2 separate regions of the Homo sapiens genome follow, and region 2 is linked to region 1. The links are contacts of gene promoters, found by promoter capture Hi-C in blood cells and fetal thymus (Javierre and others, 2016). All regions are on one chromosome and are shown on one strand. Each heading gives the region's core, a stretch centred on a gene start or on the middle of the fragment in contact. The rest is flanking DNA. Distances are from core to core; before and after follow the strand shown. Region 1 holds the start of MMP7 (matrix metallopeptidase 7). Region 2 has its middle 41 kb from the start of MMP7.

The links. The method cuts DNA at HindIII sites, captures the fragments that hold promoters and counts their contacts. A CHiCAGO score of 5 or more calls a contact.
Region 2: a contact is called between a fragment that was not itself captured here and the fragment with the promoter of MMP7 in region 1, in 3 of 17 cell types (naive B cells, M1 macrophages and M0 macrophages). The highest score is 6.4, in naive B cells.

The regions. Positions count from the first base shown.
Region 1 is chr11:102,529,020-102,532,167 of GRCh38, forward strand. MMP7 (matrix metallopeptidase 7) reads right to left here and starts at 1,728. Exons shown (of 6, transcript NM_002423.5): 1 at 1,574-1,728. The coding sequence starts at 1,681. The HindIII fragment of the contact is 6,591 bases long and covers 1,313-3,148 here.
Region 2 is chr11:102,569,917-102,572,989 of GRCh38, forward strand. No RefSeq gene overlaps it. Among named protein-coding and RNA genes, the nearest start is that of MMP7, 41 kb to the left of the region's middle. The HindIII fragment of the contact is 696 bases long and covers 1,040-1,735 here.

The DNA of each region.
Region 1 (3,148 bases), core at 478-2,977:
TTTGAACTCAAGTGTTCTGACTTCTATACATTAGAAACATGTGTAGGGTTATATGATGCCTGATAATATTGTTGTTAAAATGATTTAAACATTGGCTCACTAATTTGCAGTTTATTTGGAGTAGATGGTAATGGTTACCTGTCTTAGGACCGCCCAGGAATATGCAATTTATGTAAGAAATCTTATTAATATTGTGTCTTTTTTTCCTGTTACCAACAATTGTCTCATTAAATACAACAAATACTTATTGTTCATCCATGACAATTGATAACTGATCCTTTATTTAAAAACAAATAACCCATTTAATCCCTTCTAGAGCTACAGACTTTACCAAGACACCCTCTGGAAGAAATCTCTCTGCTTTGTTGAGATGACTTTTCCTGTTTTTTTGTTAAACCTAGCTAACATCCCTCCAAGTGAAGACTAAGTTTCTGCCAACCTTCACTCTAAGTAAAGAAACTAAACGCAGAGTACTCTTTCTGGAGAATTCATTAGGTGGAACCATATAAAACTACTGTTTTGGAGATTTTAAAAGTTAAATACTAGTAACTTTATGTGGTTCAATCTAACTTATTATAACTGGAACTTTTTAAAAGTCTAAGTTAATGTGAATTAAAAATTGACTTTTCTTATGCTTAAGGCCTAAATTTACAAATAATAGTTATAAGTAATCATCCCATTAGTTAACCAAATAATAATTAGTAGACTGCTTATATTTATTAGACTGCTTATTAAGAAGCATATTGCAAGGAACATGATTTTTGAACCAGAAGCACTTGTCCTTGATTTCTATCTCTACCACTAATAAGTACACTAATCAGTTTAACTTTGGTTTCCTCTTTTTATAGAACTAAGGATTAAATGACACAATGTCTATATAAGTACTTTATAATCTACAATTGTTACATACATGCTAGTTGGTTTTGTTATCACCTCATTTACTTACTAGAATACCCCATGAGGTATAAAACACATAATATTATTTTTTCTACTGGACACATGAGAAAACAAAGTCAGATGTTAATGCCTTGTCTATTGTCATTGACTTGTTGGAGAGTTGTAATTTCTACCCATGTTTTCTGACTTCAGATATCTCCATTACAAACAGTATTGTAAATACACAAACAGTATATTTACAGGTTGTATCTTAAGAGGCAATATTCTGTATACTATAGAAAAAGAATCTCAAGTTATAATAAATAAAAATAAGAACTTAATTTAAACAATGTTTCAGGTATTGTGTTGAATGCTTCACAACACCCTCATTTGGTTGATACCATTCTTATCTCCAACTTCCAAATTGGAAACCTGAAGCTTAGAGAAGTTTGATGACCTTCCTGAGTCTATCTACATAGTGAGTGGAGGGTTGGAACTCAAGCCCGATTTGAGCAGATTCTGAAACCTGCTTTTAATGGCTACTTGATGAAAACATATATTGCTTTTATAATCCGAAGAACCACCCCAAAGAAAATTCCACTGCAATGCTAACATGGGAAGGGAAATAATTGAAAAACACATTTCTTAATGCAGATGGCAAAAGAATGGAACCCTAAGTAAGTGGGCTGTGACATACCTGAGCCTGTTCCCACTGTAGCTCACTCATGCCTCCCGCCTCCTGAGGCAGCGGCAGGGCCAGGCTGCCAGGCAGCAGGCACACAGCACACAGCACGGTGAGTCGCATAGCTGCCGTCCAGAGACAATTGTTCTTGGACCTATGGTTGATTTGGTGTTTTCTGCTAGTGACTGCAGAAATTTATATAGCTTCTCAGCCTCGAATGTGGAAATAGGTGACTCATTTGAGTGTTTTCTTTCTTTTTAGAGTCTACAGAACTTTGAAAGTATGTGTTATTTTTCATTAACTAAAACGAGGAAGTATTACATCGTTATTGGCAGGAAGCACACAATGTATTTGTCTTTCAAAGGATTTTTTTTTCTGTCTGCTGCATAAATTGACTCCATGAGAAACCTCATTTTTTTGCCAAAGTCAAATGACTGCTCTCATAGGTATCATTCAGGACATTATGGTACCATATATTCTTAAAGAATAATATATATTCTTAAATATATATTCTTATTATATGGTACCATGTATTCTTAAATACATGGTACCATATATTCTTAACAATTAAAAGGTTTGGAAAAGTGCACAAAACATGTAAATAATGAAATAATAATTAAGCAAATACTGTAACCGTCACCAAAGTCAAGAAATAGAACATCACCAAAATCCTGTGGTTCTCCATACAGGGGAAAGATGGCAGGAGGCAGATGGAAATGCTGCTGTGTGGCTGGATTAGTGGCCACTCTATATACAACTGTGCTGTGTCCCCTCACCTTCCACGTCCCTTAGCAGAGCAGTGATAATTCCCTTCTTTGGGTCTCCTTTTAATCAGTTTATGTCTTTTCTTAATGGGGAACACTGCCTCTAATTCTTCTTGAATTAAACACAAAAAAATACCAAGCCAACAAAAATCTACAAGCACGGGTTTAACTCTTCATCTGGCTTACTTATTCTGCTTCTCATTTTATAGTAACAGATTCTTCCAAGGCTAGACCTTCAACTTGGAGATCCAATTTTTTTCTTCCAATCACTCTGACTCTGGCTGCTGCCCAGCTACAGGTAGGGCTGCATTGGTCCTTAGTACACAAAATGGTTATTCTACGTATAGCAGTAAGAATCCATTACCTACAGATTCTAGCCCAATGACTCCATTCTTACCAAAAATGAAAGTGAGGCCAAGATGATAATTTAACTTATTATACTTCTCCCAGCTCACACAGATAGTAGCTCAGTGCTTTTTCTATCCCACTGCACTGCCTATTCATTTTGTAATAGGTCTGTCTCTTTTATTATATTATACATTACTTGGGAGAACACCATGGCTTTTGACTCTAATACATCATGGGAAACACTCCAAATATGCTGGAGCTAAAAAATTTAATTAATCACATATCACTTCAATTACATGGTAATTGAGCACTGTGAGCCAGCAAAGGTAAAATTTTCAGATCAGTTAATTAAATTTGCTCTCTTTACAGAGATGTCTTGATTCTGTACGGTCACAGTTTAACTAGAGTAATTGGTATCCTTAGTCAGAGTTTGACATGTGATAAGGTGCACCATAAATATTTGTAGAATAATGAATAT
Region 2 (3,073 bases), core at 138-2,637, 41 kb after region 1:
CTATCATGAGAACAGCATGGAGGTAACCACCCCCAAGATTCAGTCACCTCCCAGCAGGTACCTCCCTCAACACCTGGGGATTACCTTTTGAGATGAGATTTGGATGGGAACACAGAGCCACCCAGAAAAGAAAATGGATTTTCTTTCTCATTAAGAAGCTATTTTATATCTTCTTAGTGAGGGCTTTCCTGGCTGATCTACTTAAAATTACAAGCTACCTCCCCAGCTCATGATTCTCAAATGTCTGGGCACTGCCCTACAGTTATTATGTTTTCTATAAGCCTTATTTTCTAACATGCTGTATAATTTGATGACTTATTATGTCTACTGCTTATTGCCTGTCTTCTCCTTGTACACTGGAAGTTGTACAAAGGCAAGGGATTTTGTTTTGTTTCCTGATGTAACCCAAGGGTCAAATAGGGATTCAATGAATATTTTTGAATAAATTAATGTGAAATTGATGTTGGATGTCAGCAGAGATGGGATGTCCATAACAAGGTGTGTAGTCAGCCTCACCAGCTCCTGAGAGATCCCTTCCTTCACTCCTCCCCAGGCTAGAGACTGGGTAACTTATAAAGGAAAGAAGTTTAATTGACTCACTGTTCCTCATGGCTGGGGAGGCCATTATAGACATAGTAGCAGCCCCCAGAAATACTCAAAGCCTAAGACTGAATTTCTGAGGGGTCCCTGAGAGGAGGATTCACTGATAAGAGTGAATGAGAATGACAGGGGTTGAGTCCAGACCTCATTACCAAGAATGCTGCCCAGAGGTGCTTCAATCCCATCCCAGCCTCTGCGCTCATCAAGCAGGGAACAAAAAAGATACAGGCCTTCACACTTCTCCTAGCTGGGGACACTGATGATTCCATGAAAATGTGAGCTCACAGGGGAAATAAGTGAGACATCCGAGGAGAACAAGTTGTGCAAAAGAAAATTCACTTACTGAAAACGTATATCTGAACACACAGCATTTACAAAAATTTGTAATCATATGGTAAGTCAGAAGACAAATTTAGGTAAGTCTCAACAAATTTAAAAAAGCTTGTATCATTCAGACCACATTCTCAAACTATAATGCAATTAAATTAGAAGTTAATTAAAAAATTAATTGAAAAAACTGCCTTATTTGAAAACTTTATTAAGGGAACTTGCTACTCACTTTCTCTATAGGACGTGATGAGATAACAAACAGAACTGTTTTTACTGTAAGAATAAAACAGATGTTTTTAAATCTCAAAAATTCTTTTATCCTTCTTAGTAAGTTCCTAAGCTACTTATTAAAGTATTAATAAGTTCTTAGGCTACTTATTACTGTATTAATAAGTAATACTTATTAGCATAGGATCTTGTTAGTTCCTGAAGAACAATCCTTAAGATTTTCAACAACTTTCATTCAGAACAATCTTGAAGATTTTATATTTTCTTTTCTGATTTCTTCTTTGATTTTGGAAACAAGAAATAGAAAAATGAAGACTAAAAAACAAAAACTTCAAAAAAAGTGTGCAACTTTTGTTGAAAACTAAACTATGTTCTTGAGGTGGGAAAGGATGCGCTTACTAACACCGGACAATAATTAAAATCTTGAGATCATTTTTCACCTGCCTTCTTATATTTTAATGATTTACGTTGTCCTAAATTCCACATAGAATGTGGAGGAAATCAAAAGGAATGTAGATAACAATTTAAGGCTTAAGTCCTAAATTTCTATTGGGTCTCAAACTCTTCCTTGAACTCAAGCTTTTTATATCTATCTACCTACTTAAGCTTTTTATGTATGGACATTTCCCCTTGGATGTGTAATAGGCATCTCAAACTCAATGAATTCAAAATTACACTCTTGACCTCCAGCCCCCGTAAACCTGCTCTTACTTTGGTCTTTCCATTTCACCACTACTCTTTCACTTGTTTAGGCCAAAAACGTTGGAGTCATTGTGGATCCTTCTCTTTTTATTAAATTCTGCATGCACTTTAGATACAAATACTGTTGGCTTTACCTTGAAAATATTCCTCAATCTGACAATCTTAGCATTTTCACTGCCACTTCTTTGGTCAGTGCCACCATCATTTTTACCCTGGCAAATGGCACTGTCTAGTGTCCCTGAATCCATCATGTGCTTTTATAATCTGTTTGCTACTCAGCAGTCAGATCATGTTATGAACCTGCTGAAAACCCTTCTTATCACAGGGACCCGCAAGGCTTCCATAGCTTGGTTAGCTGCTTCTCTGATCTGATCTGTTTCTACTTTCCTTCTCCCTCACTGTCTCCAGCCACACTGGCCTTCCTGGTGTGCCTAAAACAGGTGCAGATCCTTCCTACCTACCTCAAGGTCTTGCGCTTATTGCTTCTTCTACCTGAAACTTCTAGAGACTTCCACAGCTTCCTCCCTCCCTTTAGTTATTCTGCATGAATACCCTGGACCCAGTATGTCCTTTTCCTAAACATATTTTTATAAAATGGCACTCCAACGTTCTTTATTACTTGCACTGCTTTATTTATTTTTTCAAAGCACTTTCACTATCTTTCATTATAGATCTCTATTCATTTGAATATTGTGTGTCTCTTTAATGGAATGTAAGCTCCTTGAGGGCAGGAGTTTATGCAAGAAAGCAGCTGAGCATAGGTTGGTGCCAGCACAAAGTAGGCGCTTAGTAATTATTTTCTAGTGAATTGAGAGTGAATATTAAGGATAGAGATGGGGGGGTAGCTAGATCCTTCAAAAAGGCTGAATTGGCTGTTTGTAAAGATGAACTAATTTTAGAAATTAAGCATTTCAAAAGAAACCACTGATAAAATTACTCACAGAAATTGCTGATTCATATATGGAAATACATTTAAAATCTGGCAAAGTGACATGCTACAATCATTGAGCAGTCTGCAGTTCAAGTGGAATGGGCTGTAATGGGACTTTTGACATCCATTCTCTATAGAGGCAGCTGTAAACACATTTAATACCCAACTCAAAAACTCACATTGTTTATCACTGCATTACAGACCTGGGACTTTCCAAGAATAAACAAATTGCTAACTATTTATACAGACATTCTTTTTTTTATGGACATTCACTGCAAATGA